Linked DNA regions of Homo sapiens: all the other regions are linked to region 2. The links are contacts of gene promoters, found by promoter capture Hi-C in blood cells and fetal thymus (Javierre and others, 2016). All regions are on one chromosome and are shown on one strand. The core of a region is centred on a gene start or on the middle of the fragment in contact, and the rest is flanking DNA. Distances in the headings are between cores, read along the strand shown.

Region 1 (4,509 bases), core at 883-3,382, 4.0 Mb before region 2:
TACAAAGCAAACAAGAGCATTTCTTTTAATGGTAATGTGCTTTTTAGAAAACTGAACAGGCCAATGTGATACAAGTGTAAGACTGCGTTTGGGGGAACTGCCTAAGATTGAAGGCTCTGAAAAAGCCCCTCTAAGGAAGTGACATTTGGGCCAAGACATAAACATGAAATATGCAAAAGGCTGAGAGAACAAATCAGGCTGAGCAAAAAGATCTTGAGGTAGGTGAGCCTAATGTATTCATGAACAGAGTGTAGTTAATTAACTAGGTATGAGAGAAGGGCAAGGCTTAGATCACCTGGAACCTTGAAGGTAAAGTGGTTTAAAAAGGGAAATGACGAGATCTATGTTTTTCCCCTCTTAACTTTTTTGGAATAATGAATTATGAGTAGAAACAAGGAAACTATTAATACTCCAAGTGAGAGGTGATAAGGGTTTGGAATCAGAGTGGTAGCAATGAGGATGGAGATAAACGGATTGATTCAAGACATAGTTTGGAATCAGAAACAATAGAACTTACTGATCGGGTGTGTGAGACAGAGAGGATTCAAGGTTTCAGTTTGTGAAACCATTTACTCAGATGAAGAAAACTAGAGGAAGTTTGGGCTTTTTTGAATATGTCGTTTGAAGTGCAAAGCTAGGTGGGAATGTTGACTTTCAACTTAATGAAGTCTCTCTATAAGCTTGTGGGGAAGAAGAGGAATCACGTTCCGTGTCTCTGTTCTCCCAAAGCCTAACACCATGTCTCACACACATTATGCACGCAGTTTAAGTGTTTTTGAATGTTTTGAGGGTGGCTATTTGTTTTCAAGTTGAAACTCCTTGAAGACGGCAGTTCTGTACCTACACAAAAACTAAAAAAGGGGGCTTTGGCACCTTCTGAGATTTTGCTAATGCCTAGGTGAATGACTTCTATGTGATTACATAGGGCTTTAGCTGCACAATATTTGTGCAGTATTGAGATTCTCTCAAGTGAAGGTTACTTTTTTTCTTTTGAGTGTAATTGTATAAAGCTGGGCTCAAATGTTGTGAAAAAGATACATATACATATGGTTTACCATGAAAGGCTAGGATTCCAGGCACATTTACAACCACAAAGGCATGAGACCAATCAAGAATGTGCTGCACCCGGACGAAGAAGGCGCTAAGCGCCTCAAATCCAACAGTTGAAAGCCAACAACAAGCGGAAGAACTCTTTCAGAAAGACTCCAGCCTGGGTGAGAGGAGTGAGAACTTGTCAAAAAAAAAGAAAGAAAGAAGAAAAAGAGGTCTGAGAGGGGAAGGAGGAAAATCATTTTTATTTACTGAACATCTTTTAAAGATTTCACACCACAGAACTATGCCCTTTAATTCTTATAACGCTAAGAAAGCCCTTATTCATATTCACCACCCTTTTTACGGGAGACAAAAGCTCAGAGTATCTCGCTTTACCTCAAACTATTAAGAGCCAGAGCTATCGTCATACCGCAGGTCTCAGTCCTTGCCTCCCCCATTATCCACTAGCAAAAGTATTTACACTTAATTGCAAGCAACGAGTACAGAAAAACTGAAAGAAGGAATGGAAGAAAACGCCACATCCACTGCTAAAACCTTGGGTCAGAACACGTCCGCGAGGCTTTCCAGGGCCAAAGCCTTACTTAAATCTACCACGGTTGTCGCTTCCCCTCCAGTCCCTCACTTTTCATCCCACTCACTGACAAAGAAAAGAGGGGGTTCAGGCCGCGGTAATATAACCCAGCCTGGCGGTGGGTCTGAAGGGACAGAAGAGAAAGGTTCGCGACCCGCCCACACCCTTCTCTAGGTAGAAGTGACAACCAAGGAAGGATATGAGGAGTCGGGGCAGGACGGACGGCAGTTCCCGGCGGCATAGCTCCTCTGGCCAGCTACTTAATTCTTCCAGGGGAACCGCGCTAGCTGGGACCGCACCTTCCTGAGACATACTTTCGTCAAACAGGAGAGCTTCAAACCAGACCCGCCAAAGCCCAGACCGGAAACTCGCAGTCCCGCCAACCCTTGCGCGCTCTCCGCCGGCTCCAAAACCATAGAGAGGAGGGCGGCTGGTTTCTTGGTGAGCCCGGGTCCCTCAAGGCCGGAAAGAAAGTCGGGCTTCTCTAGCCCCTGGAGGACTCGACTCACTGGTGCGCGATTTAGGTCCGGAGGAGGCGTTGTGAGGTGAGCTTTTTCAGAAGCGCGATCCCAGGACACGTCGGGAAGCAAGCATCCCCAGGTCTGGATCACTGTAAACATTACATTCAAATGGGGAGGTGAGGGCCAGAAGTCCCCACTTCTGGGGTCGGATTTGTTCCGGGACCTGCAGCCGGAAGTGACTCCAAGCCTTGCAGCGTGATGGGAGAGGAAAGAGGCGCGTTCCTAGCCGCGGGACTGGGTGACCCGCCTCTCCCCCAAATTGTAAATCTTGTATAAAGGGAACAAAGATCCCACTTGCCAGAACTGTGAAAATTGAGGCAGATGGTATAGTGTCTAGCGCAGTAGATAGAAGATTCTCAATAAAGTTGCTTCTTATTTCTACAGGTCTCTCCAAACTACTGCAGTGCCCTAGTTTGCGTTTGCTCTGCCACCGAATTAGTCTTTACTAATTATTGCCAAATTACCCCCACTTCTATACACTTAGGGCTGCTGTTCTCGACTAAATGTTTGGAGTGAAGTCTTGGATGAATTTACACACACCAGGCCATACCTATGCATGTTTTTAAAGGGACGCTGACTTACCAAAATAAAATACTGCACCTCTTCTGTAAAAGACAGAAGTGAAGTTATTCTGGAAGCTTAGGGGGTGAATATGGTTGGACACAAATCAAGACAGCTGAAAGACAGCAAGTAGCTAGGCTGTCCTGTCTGAATATCTTGGACTTTATGTTTGTCCAGGTGGTAGTGGTGGTGGTTGCTGTTGTTCTTCTGTTTGTTTTTATAGTTGATTTTCTTCTCCCACTTTGGAACCCTTAAGGTGTGTATGAGTGTCCAAATCTCTTATCTCTCTCTCTTCCCCACAACTTTTTAAGAAAAAGCAGCTGTATGGTGGGACAGGGAGGGGTGGGGGTGGCTGTTTAATATTACACTTTAGTGAAATGTGCCATTTTGCTTTAATCATCATTTTCTTTCTTTTTTTTTTTTTTTTCTTTCCAGAGCTGCTTGGAAAGAGGACCAAAGACGTCTAAAAAGTCATTTGGAAATATCTCTAAATATTTGTTACCATGTATAAGCTGCTAAAGAGAAATTGGGCCCAACAAAACTAATTGAATAATTGAGGCAGATTTGTGTGTATCATCAAATTCTATCCAGAAGTTGAAGAATCTGAATTTAAAGATTGTGTGCATTTAATAAGAGGATGACCTTTCAGTTTAATTTCACTATAGAAGACCATCTGGAAAATGAATTAACACCCATTAGAGATGGAGCTTTGACCCTGGATTCCTCAAAAGAGCTGTCAGTCTCAGAAAGTCAAAAAGGAGAAGAGAGGGACAGAAAATGTTCTGCAGAACAATTTGACTTGCCTCAGGATCACTTGTGGGAACATAAGTCAATGGAAAATGCAGCTCCCTCTCAAGACACAGACAGTCCACTCAGTGCAGCCAGCAGTTCAAGGAACTTGGAGCCACATGGAAAACAGCCCTCCTTGAGAGCTGCCAAAGAGCATGCTATGCCTAAAGATTTAAAGAAGATGTTAGAAAATAAAGTCATAGAAACATTACCAGGTTTCCAGCATGTTAAGTTATCAGTAGTGAAAACCATCTTGTTGAAAGAGAACTTCCCTGGAGAAAACATAGTTTCAAAAAGCTTTTCTTCTCACTCTGATCTGATTACAGGTGTTTATGAGGGAGGCTTAAAAATCTGGGAATGTACCTTTGACCTCCTGGCTTATTTCACAAAGGCCAAAGTGAAATTTGCTGGGAAAAAAGTCTTGGATCTTGGTTGTGGATCAGGTTTACTAGGTATAACTGCATTCAAGGGAGGGTCCAAAGAAATTCACTTTCAAGATTATAACAGTATGGTGATTGATGAAGTAACCTTACCTAATGTAGTAGCTAACTCCACTTTGGAAGATGAAGAAAATGATGTAAATGAGCCAGATGTGAAAAGATGCAGGAAACCAAAAGTAACACAACTATATAAATGCCGATTTTTTTCTGGTGAGTGGTCTGAGTTTTGTAAGCTTGTACTAAGTAGTGAAAAACTTTTTGTAAAATATGATCTCATTCTCACCTCAGAAACCATTTACAACCCAGATTATTATAGTAATTTGCACCAGACTTTCCTTAGACTGTTAAGTAAAAATGGACGTGTACTTTTGGCCAGCAAAGCACATTATTTTGGTGTAGGTGGAGGTGTTCATCTCTTTCAGAAGTTTGTAGAAGAAAGAGATGTTTTTAAGACCAGAATACTCAAAATAATTGATGAAGGATTGAAGAGGTTCATAATTGAAATAACTTTTAAGTTTCCTGGTTAATTAACATTCACTGAGTATCCAAAATGAAATAAACAGAAGGACCAAAA
Region 2 (4,921 bases), core at 854-3,353:
TTAATTAGTTATTTTTTCCTCTTTAGTAGTAGATAAAATAATGATGCGTCTTACAATGAATAGCATGTTGAATTTGATGAATTGTGTGTGCCAAGCACTGCTTGAAATGCTTTATAATATACTTTTCCTCATCCAGTCTTCATAGCTGATGTTACCACCATTTTGAAGGCTCAAAGATGCTAAACAATAGGTTCTAGGACTGCTGTCAAGTAAGTGGCAGAGCAAGAATTTAAAATCAGGTCTGATTTCCAAGATCATGCTCTTATTGTTATCTCAGCACTTACCTTGGGTGATACAAAGGTGAATAAAAACCTATCCTTGTCTGAACTGCTCAAATAAAGGTCTAGCTCAAATATGATCTTTCTGAAACCTTTCCAACTCCCCAGGAAGAATACATCTTGTTTTCATCTGTACCCCCTCAACATTTTAAGAATACCTCTATAATACCTATAATCTTATTATATTATATAATCTCCCTGGGCCCTTAGAAGTCAGGAATATTCTCTTAACCATCCTTTTGACCCTACAGTGCCTACCACAGTTCTTGACATATAGTAGAAGCTCAATAATGTTTCTTAAAAAGGAGACAGGGTCTCTGTTGCTAAGTCTGGGAGACAAGAAATGCACATAAAGCTAAAAAAAAGTCAAAAGTAGTGTTTAGGAGAATTATATATTTAAGTGCAGTACAGTTTAAAAGAACCAATGAGGGCCGGCCACGGTGGCTCACGCCTGTATTCCCAGCACTTTGGGAGGCCGAAGTGGGTGGATCTGAGGTCAGGAGTTCAAGACCAGCCTGGCCAACATGGCAAAACCCCGTCTCTACTAAAAATACAAAAAATTAGCTGGGCGTGGGGACGGGCACCTGTAGTCCCAGCTACTTGGGAGGCTGAGGCAGGAGAATGGCTTGAACCCGGAGGCAGAGGTTGCAGTGAGCCGAGATTGTGCCATTGCACTCCACCTGGGCAACAAGAGTGAAACTCCATCTCAAACAAACAAAAAAACACCAATGATAGGAGGAAGTACAAGAGGATACAGCTCAGCCAGCTTCCAGGTTTTCACCCATACACACACACACCCCAGTGTGAAAAAGCTGAAACCGTCTACAATGGCTGAAACCACGCTGCTGAGACATTTTTGAATTTTAATTAGTTAGCAACACTTATAAATTAAGTTTCACATAAAACCCAGGATTTCTGGATTTTCCTGAGAAACGAAGACATCTCAGAAACTGGGTGCTCATTCTCCTAGAGAAATGGGTTGGATTTGGGTATCAAATTCTCCTTTCAGATGAACTTAATGCTCACTTATCCATCGTAGTAACTTCCACCATTTGTTTAGGCTCAGCTTGCATAAGATAATTTATTTTCTCTCGCCAGTCTAGGCATCTGGGTTTAAGACCCCTTCTCTAGATACATTACTCACTGCACTATCACACTATGAATTTTCAGGCATCCGTGCTTTGACTTCCACTTTGCCTAGAAAGTCCTTTGCTATCTCCAAAAGTACTCCTACTCCCCTAAGGCACTGCTTCAATTCCTTTCATTAGCTTCTTCTGACCACTCTCTCAACCGTGTCACGCAGCACTGTGGTAATACCTCTATTAAAACCCTTATCAGAGCGTATGCACAAGCTTCTCCTCTTCGCGCTGACGTTCGCTCCTTGAGGCCAGCGGCCCACAACTAACTCATTTCGCGGTTCCAGCTTCACGTCCATGCCCTGGCACCTACACCCAGTCGTTCAGTACCTTTGCGGAAGTCAGTCTTCTTACTTCACGGCAAACCCAAGCTAAACTAATATTACGACCACAGAAGTTGGGCTGAGGTAGAAGTCAAGACTATCCCAATAACTGGATTCTGGCCGAGAAAAAGGCGCGCGCCAGCACCCCAGTCAGTAAAATCTACCGGGCAAAGTTCGCCGCCGCCACTATCCTCCTCTGGCTCTGAAATAGTTCCAATTCTCGCGAGATTCGGCCTGACTACCAGCCCTTCAGCTCCAGTGAGTTGCGGGTTGGTTTCCTCTAGACTCTCGTGGCCACACCGTTCTCCGATACGAGCCTTTCCGGTGCTATGCCCCGGAAGCGGAAGTGCGATCTTCGGGCTGTCAGAGTTGGTCTGTTACTCGGTGGTGGCGGAGTCTACGGAAGCCGTTTTCGCTTCACTTTTCCTGGCTGTAGAGCGCTTTCCCCCTGGCGGGTGAGAGTGCAGAGACGAAGGTGCGAGATGAGCACTATGTTCGCGGACACTCTCCTCATCGTTTTTATCTCTGTGTGCACGGCTCTGCTCGCAGAGGGTGAGAGCGGGTATTTCTCAGACGTTTGATCAGTCCCCGGGAGGAAGGGCCCCGGGGTCCCCTGTGCCACCAGGGGAAAGATCGCGAGCCTTACTTGCTTGAGAGGCTCATCTACTCCACTTCAGGGAATCTCTGGGCAACTCGTGAACAGGAGCAGGAGGGGAGTATGGAGTCGATTGCCGAGTTTTCTTTGGTCTCAGGTAGATTTCACTTGGGTATTTGTGGAGACACCTTCACATCATGTTACTGTTGTTTTGGCTGAAGAGTCAGTTGTATTAGCCTTTGAAAAAAGTTAACTATGGGTAAATACAAAGCGAAAAGTTGGAATTCCTCCTTCTCCAACAGTAACCACTTTGTTTGTTGTGATCATTCCAGTCATTTCTCTATTAACATGTTGCTTTTAATGTTTTAGGCATAACCTGGGTCCTGGTTTACAGGACAGACAAGTACAAGAGACTGAAGGCAGAAGTGGAAAAACAGAGTAAAAAATGTGAGTATGGCAACACATTAGAAATAATTTCAACACGTCAAGCTCATTAAGTCCATGTTCACAATAAATATTTTAAGAGCACCAGCTGATACAAAGATGAACCTGACTTGAAGCCTATTTAGAAATAGAAGACTTTTATGCAAAATGTGTAATACCAACTAGAGGGAAGTGAGGGGCGTAGCAGATACATGTTATGTGCTGTGGTGGTTCTAAAGAAGAGGTTCAATCTGGCGCAGTGGCTTACTCCTGTTAATCCCAGCACTTTGGAAGGCTGAGGCAGGACTGAACTTAGGGGTTTGACACCAGCCTGGGCAACATAGGGAGACCTCGTCCCTACAGAAAAAATTAGCTGGGTATGGTGGTACACACCTATAGTCCCAGCTATTTGGGAGACTGAGGCATGAGGATCCCTTGAGCCCAGGAGATTGAGGCTACAGTGGGCCACGATGGTGTCACTACACTGCCTCCTGGGCAATAGTGAGACTTGTCTTTAAAAAAAAAAGAAGAAGAGGCTTCATTCAGTTGTGAGGAACCATGGTAGCCTTCATGATGCTGATGGCCTTGCAGTTCCTTGTGGATAGTTAGAATTTGGATAGAGAATGAAATGGGGAAAGGAAATTCCAGGTAAAGAAATAACATATGAGCAAAAATATGGAAATCTTAACATTTAAGGCATGTTTGGAGGATGATATGTCATTATGACTGGTGTCAAGGTAAGTGGTGTCTTCAGAGATAAGCCGAGTTTCAGTTGGGTTAGAAAGTTGAAGAGGTGTTTAAGGAAAAGATTAAAAACAAGAAGGGTTTGTTACCTTTGAAATAAAGCAGGAATTCCACAGGACTCAGCTAAAGGTACAGGGTGAATGGTTCCTTATAGGCCTGATTTAGTTTTCTCTCTTCTTTTTTTCCTTATAAGGATTAAATATAACTTTTGTTTCTTAGAATTCCTACAACTTTCTGTATTCTGTGACTTTTTCTTATATCTTCATAGGGGTTTGAAGTTTTTTTTCTTAAATTACCATATTTGATCTACACAGCAACCATTTGTGGTTACTCGTATAAATATTACCTCCATGTCATAGGAAAGAAAATTGAGCCTCAGGATGATAATGACAACTTACGTCACAGAGCAAACAAAGAATTAGAGACCAGACTCAGGCTTTTAAAATTACAGCTTACTGTTCCTTAATTTACTCAGTGTTGATTATGTACCTCAGCATATCTGGGCCAAACTCGTTATCTTTACCTTCACAAACGTGATATTCTTCCAGGATTTCCCTATCTTGGTGATGGGTACCTCCATGCTTCCAGTAGTGTAAGCCAGAAACCTTGATATGCTTTATTAATTTGGCTCCAGGACACCATACTTTCGGTTTTGCTGCTCTCCATCTTACTAGTCATCCTTTTTTTATTTTTTATTTATTTATTTATTTTTTGAGACAGGGTCTCACTCTGTCACCCCTCAGAGCTCATTGCAGCCTGGACCTCCCAGGCTTAAGCGATCCTCCTGCCTCAGACTTCTGAGTAGCTGGGACTACAGATGCACACCACCATGACTGGCTGATATTTTGGAGAGATGAGGTCTTGTTCTGTTGCCAGGGCTGATCTCAAACTCCTGGGCTCAAGCGATCCTCCCGGCTAGGCCTCCCAAAGTGCTGGGATTACAGGCATGAACCACAGTGCCCAGCCCTTACTGATCATTCTTCTGCAATTTACTTGATGGTTTCATTTCTTGACCTCCCGTTGTTGGGAGTGACACAAAATTTAGTTTTTTTCTCTACATTCACTTCCTTGGTGAACTTATCTTTTGGCTGTATTGGCCAGTGACTCCCAAATTTATGTCTGTGGCCCTCTCTTCTTAATACAAGATTCATATATCCACGCATCAATTTGTTATGTCAGCTAGAATGTTTGGTGGACAGCTCAGTCCCAACACGTCCCAAATTGAATACTTGTTCCTCATGTCTAAGCCTGTGTCATTTGTAGCCTTCTTTATCTTGGTCAATGGCATTTCTGTCCTTCCACTTGCTCAGGCCATAATTCTTGTGTAGTTATCTTTTACTCTTCTTACAACCCACATCTAGTCTGTCTGCAGATACTGTTGGGTTTCCTTTTTGAAGAAACACCCCAAACCAGTAAAGGTTC
Region 3 (4,704 bases), core at 2,157-4,656, 3.3 Mb after region 2:
CACTCCAGCCTGGGTGAAAGAGTGAAACTCCATCTCAAAAGAAAAAAAAAAATCATCATAAATTGAATACTCTTAAGTTGAAAGTAAGGACCCCAAAGCAAAGCACTGGTGAAGTTTACCTTCCATTCCTGAGATCTGACTGTATGTTTCAGTTTCATTCCTGAGAACATTTCCAGTAAAATGATTCCTAGGCTCCACAGATCAACAGCTGAGGTACATTCTGTATCACTCTGCAGGCCAGCCTGGGCCAAGCAATTTTGCAATTCTGCTTCTGGAGCCCGATACCCGTCTGTCTGAATATACTTTACATCCTAAAAAAGATGAGTAAATATTACAACCAATAAAAAAGCTGCTCCCTTTCTATCCATCTCTACAGTGAATTTACTTCCCTAAGAGTGCAGTAAACCCACTGCCAAGCTAAATGCTAAAAATTTTTAGTCCTTGATTACCATAATTCTTTGGTTCATTAACTGGGCAGTTCTCAGAGGCAAGCTGTACATTTCCATATAGCGCTCATAAAGAAGTCTTCTTTGGATTGTCTCTTACCTATTAGGCACTGCTGATAATAAGGACACTGCAAAGAAATGATAAACCATGGAGAAAAGAGGATTTGGCAGAACTATCATATGCATTCTGCCACGAGATACAGCCCCAACACTGAAGAGACCAGGAATAGTAACTCAGCAATTAGCCAAACACGCATAAAATTTAAAAAACCATTCTATGTAGGTTAAGTACTTTTAATAATTCCAGAGCTCTCATGCTTCACTGGCTCCTCCTACCTGACCCAAACATTATGTCCTTTTTTTACACGGTGGCACTGAAATTCTTTTGATTTACTGCATCCCCTGGCATTTCAGTAATTTAGGTTAAAATGACTTGTAAGCCCCTACTAAACTACCCTTGTCATTTAAAAATATTTGGCTTCAACCACTACATTTTAAACTGCGAGAGAAAAGAAAAGGTTATTTCTTACCTGATTGCCTTCTTTGAAGCTAAGTCCAAAGTCAATGAGTTTAAAACATTCATTCTCTGCACTCCACAATATGTTACGTGGTTTGAGGTCCGCATGGACATAGCCCTCATGATGAAGAAAAGCAAGGGCCTCCAAAACATCTCGGGCACAATGCTGTATCATCCACATGGAACAACCCTGGTGACTGGAATATAAGAGCAATTCCGAAACACTGACATCCAGGAGTTCAAGCAACAGACAGCGTGATGGCACATTTGGAGAAAAGTGGATTGTAAACACTCCATACAAAGTCACTAGAAAAAGAAATTATAATACTTTAAAAATCAGACTCAGAGTAAGTCACTACTAAAGTAGGTAACTGCAGTACAAATTTGAGATAGTCTAGATAAGGATAACTTTGATGAGCAAGCTTCCACTGTAATTTATTTTTCCCATGAATAAGATCTTTTGGCAATTGGGTTATTTTAATAAAAATAAGATGAGACAGCCTACAACAGCTGATTACCATTCACAGATACTAAATATGGTACAATTATTCAATTTGTGTTTCACCAAGTACTCATTGGTGATGAACACGAACTTGGAGTGCCAAGCAAAAATGATTAAAAGTAAAAAACCTAAATATAAATAAATAAAACTTACTGTTGCATCATGAGGTCCTTTAAAAAAAAAGAAATTTTTAAAAGTAAAAACCCAAATATTAAGTAACTCTTTTAAAAGGAATGTCACAATGCGCAAAAACCAAACTAAACATTGCTTCTTCATCCAAAACAGCAGTCTAGGTCTGCCACGGTGGCTCATGCCCGTGATCCCAGCATTCTGAGAGACCGAGGCAGGAGGACTGCTTGAGCCCAGGAGTTTGGAGACCAGCCTGGGTAACAAAAGGGGACCTCTTCTCTACAAAAAATTAGCCAGGCTTGGTGCTACGTGCCTGTAGTCCCAGCTACCTGGGAGGCTGAGGTAGGAGCATGGCTTTAGGAGGAATTGGAGGCTGGAGTGAACTGTGATCTCGCCATTGTACTCCAGCCTGGGTGACAGAGTAAGAACTTGTCTCAAAAAAAAAAACTAAAACAAAAATAAACAGCTCTCTATAATCTAAATACTAACAAAGAGATTAAGACTTTTCGGATGAAATTTTAATCTTGCAGAGATCAGGCAAGTCCCTAGGCTTGCAAAATTTTTCCCTTTTCAATACCAAGGTTATAGTAACAGACCATTTAGTAAACTAAAAAAATGTAGCACTAGTGTTAATTCTTCTCCAAAATGATATTATAAAAAAACTCACTCTTCAAATTAACTATGCATCATACTTGCTAGGAAATAAGACTTTTCTTTAATAACCAAAGCTATAACTAATGATAAGCTTTCTGTCGTGTAATGAAAATGAAACCTTTTCACAGATCAATCATCAGTGATCATTACATATCTTACATTCTGAGTATCTGATTCTTGAAACAGTCTCAAGAGAGCAAAGGTATAGTGTTCCTAAATTTCACACTTCTATAAAGGCTCCCATGGAATAGTGCATCATTTCTTCCAAATCCGTACTAAAGATATAATAGGTGAGCTATACGAGTTACTAGCATTGATGTCACAAGGCCCAGACGTAGTTCCCATTTTCTACTGGTATGCAAAGATTCAAAAATTTCCACACAAGACACGACAATCTAGCAAAGACATGCCTCCTCTCACTAGAAAAGATATTTCTGTATGCTAATGAATGCGGCATTCTCCGATGAGACTCGAAGCAAGACAATTTACTGAGCATCTATGTGACACCTGGCAAAGCAGACCACCAACTCCACTATACCGCAGACAGTAATAAAGTGAAAGGGGAAAGGGGCCTGGATGGGGTGATAAAGAGGGCTAAACCCGCTTCTCCCGCAGAAGGGGAGGAAGATGGAACGCCAGACAGCGAGAGGAAGAGTGTGCTCGGACTGTGACCTGGGCAAGAAGAGAAAGGAGACAGCGGCAATTACCGATGTTTCTGTGACCCTGCAACTGTTCCAGCGCCGCCCTCTCTTTGCGGAAACCATACTCGGCGGCAGAGGCCGCAGCCCCGGTGGTTCCTGGCGGCAAGAACTGCTTGAGGGCGCCGGGGGGCGAGCCAGGGTTGCCGCAGCAGCGAACCCGATACACCGAGGCGGAGGAGCCGCTACCCAGACGGCTCTGTACCTGCCACAGCCGCCCGAAGGCCTCCAGAAAACGCGGCGGCTCCGCGCCCCAGGCGCAGCCGGATCCCGCCATCGGTGTGGGTTAAGGGCACGGACACGGGAGCTGACGCGACGCCTGAGGCAGGCCGGCCGGGCCCGCGGTCACATCTCCGCCAGCCGGACCAGCGGCTCCGCAGGGAGGGACCTGCAGCCGCCTCACCGACTCCCGGGACTTCAAGCAGCCATGACACCGGAAGCCGTGGTGCACCCGAGTCCCAGAAGCCGGAAATGGAGGAAGAGCCTATCATACAGGCCGAAGGAGGGGGGGCTCAGAAGGGGCGGGGCCTAGAAGAGATTAGACGCGCTAGGTTTGGAAAAAAGAACCGAGAATAAGAAGTAACCTTAATTATTGAGTATCTACCATTCCAGGCCCAGTGTTAACCGCTTTCACATAGACCTGAAGCCAAAACTGGTCCTTTTTCTTGTTGAGGCACCTCACCTTACCTCACCACTAGGAACCCGAAAAATAAAACCCGGCCTACATTTCTCATAGAAAGGATCCCAAGGAAAACACCCCAGGAACAAAAAGAGAGTTTACCATCACCTCCAGGTCCACGGTCACCAGAACCCATGATTCTGGAAGCCTAGACCTTTGTTCTTCTTTTAGATGTAAACCGAAAATACAATTCTAAGCCCCCCGTGTCGCCAACCATCGGAATGGACTTTCTCCCAGGCCAGGGCACTCTAAAATTCTGGTTCAGTCCATGACGGGAAGTGGGGGTCCGACTAGCCTCATACCTCTCCGGTTAAGGTCAACACAGACCTTCGGTCTGGTAAGAAACATTTACAATCTATTTTCTTGGAAGCCTGGTACCTGGAGGCTTCATCTGCATGACAAAACTTTGGTCTCCACAAGTTCTTATGACAACCCAGACATTCCTTTCTATTGATAACTCTTTCAACCAATTGCCAATTAGAAAAATTTTAAATCTACCTATAACCTGGAAGGACCCATTTCTCCCCCCACCAATTCCCGCTTCGAGTTTTCCCACCTTTCTGGGCCAAATCAATGTATTTCTTAAATATATTTGATTGAAGTCTCATGTCTCCCAAAATGTATAAAACCAAGCTGCACCCCAACCACCTTGGGTACATGTTCTCAGGATCTCCTGAGGGCTGTGTCACAGACCATGGTCACTCATAGTTGGCTCAGAATAAATCTCTTCAAATATTTTACAGAGTTTAACTCTTTTTATCAACATAGTCCACCTTGCCTATGGCTCCCTCATCAAAAAGCATTCACCCTGGGCAAACACGGATCTGTTCCAAATTTTTATTTTTCATTTATTTATTCAATTATTTTATTCATTCAGCAAACGTTTATTGAGTAACAAATGTAGCAAATAGGCATCTCAATCCACAAACTCGAGTGTGTAAGAAATGTAGCCTTCTTTACTTTTCAGTCATTCAACCTTTTCTATTTCAAGATCTATTCTGATTGTGTGGCAAAAACTTAGTATCAGACAATAGGCCCTATCTTCTTTTCTTCAGGTTTTGTGTAAGTTCCCAGCCAGA

What was found. Contacts are between HindIII fragments. The CHiCAGO score rates a contact against its expected background, and 5 or more counts as called.
Region 1: a contact is called between the fragment with the promoter of METTL18 here and the fragment with the promoter of TMCO1 in region 2, in 2 of 17 cell types (activated CD4 T cells and fetal thymus). The highest score is 8.7, in activated CD4 T cells.
Region 3: a contact is called between the fragment with the promoter of UHMK1 here and the fragment with the promoter of TMCO1 in region 2, in 1 of 17 cell types (total CD4 T cells). The highest score is 5.4, in total CD4 T cells.

The regions. Positions count from the first base shown.
Region 1 is chr1:169,792,530-169,797,038 of GRCh38, reverse strand. It overlaps METTL18 (methyltransferase 18, RPL3 N3(tau)-histidine), which reads left to right and starts at 2,132. Exons shown (of 2, transcript NM_033418.4): 1 at 2,132-2,224; 2 at 3,142-4,509. The coding sequence starts at 3,344. The coding sequence ends at 4,462. FIRRM (FIGNL1 interacting regulator of recombination and mitosis) reads right to left here and starts at 1,999. Exons shown (of 25, transcript NM_001320047.2): 1 at 1,924-1,999; 2 at 1,056-1,210. RefSeq lists an enhancer at 2,080-2,399. The HindIII fragment of the contact is 2,103 bases long and covers 683-2,785 here.
Region 2 is chr1:165,766,050-165,770,970 of GRCh38, reverse strand. It overlaps TMCO1 (transmembrane and coiled-coil domains 1), which reads left to right and starts at 2,103. Exons shown (of 7, transcript NM_019026.6): 1 at 2,103-2,289; 2 at 2,702-2,779. The coding sequence starts at 2,220. It overlaps TMCO1-AS1 (TMCO1 antisense RNA 1), which reads right to left and starts at 2,042. Exons shown (of 3, transcript NR_125374.1): 1 at 1,596-2,042. RefSeq lists enhancers at 1,140-1,815, 1,816-2,492. The HindIII fragment of the contact is 3,297 bases long and covers 1,633-4,921 here.
Region 3 is chr1:162,496,520-162,501,223 of GRCh38, reverse strand. UHMK1 (U2AF homology motif kinase 1) reads right to left here and starts at 3,406. Exons shown (of 8, transcript NM_175866.5): 1 at 2,956-3,406; 2 at 977-1,269; 3 at 120-311. The coding sequence starts at 3,223. RefSeq lists enhancers at 2,669-3,169, 3,356-3,435, 3,170-3,670. The HindIII fragment of the contact is 6,861 bases long and covers 2,342-4,704 here.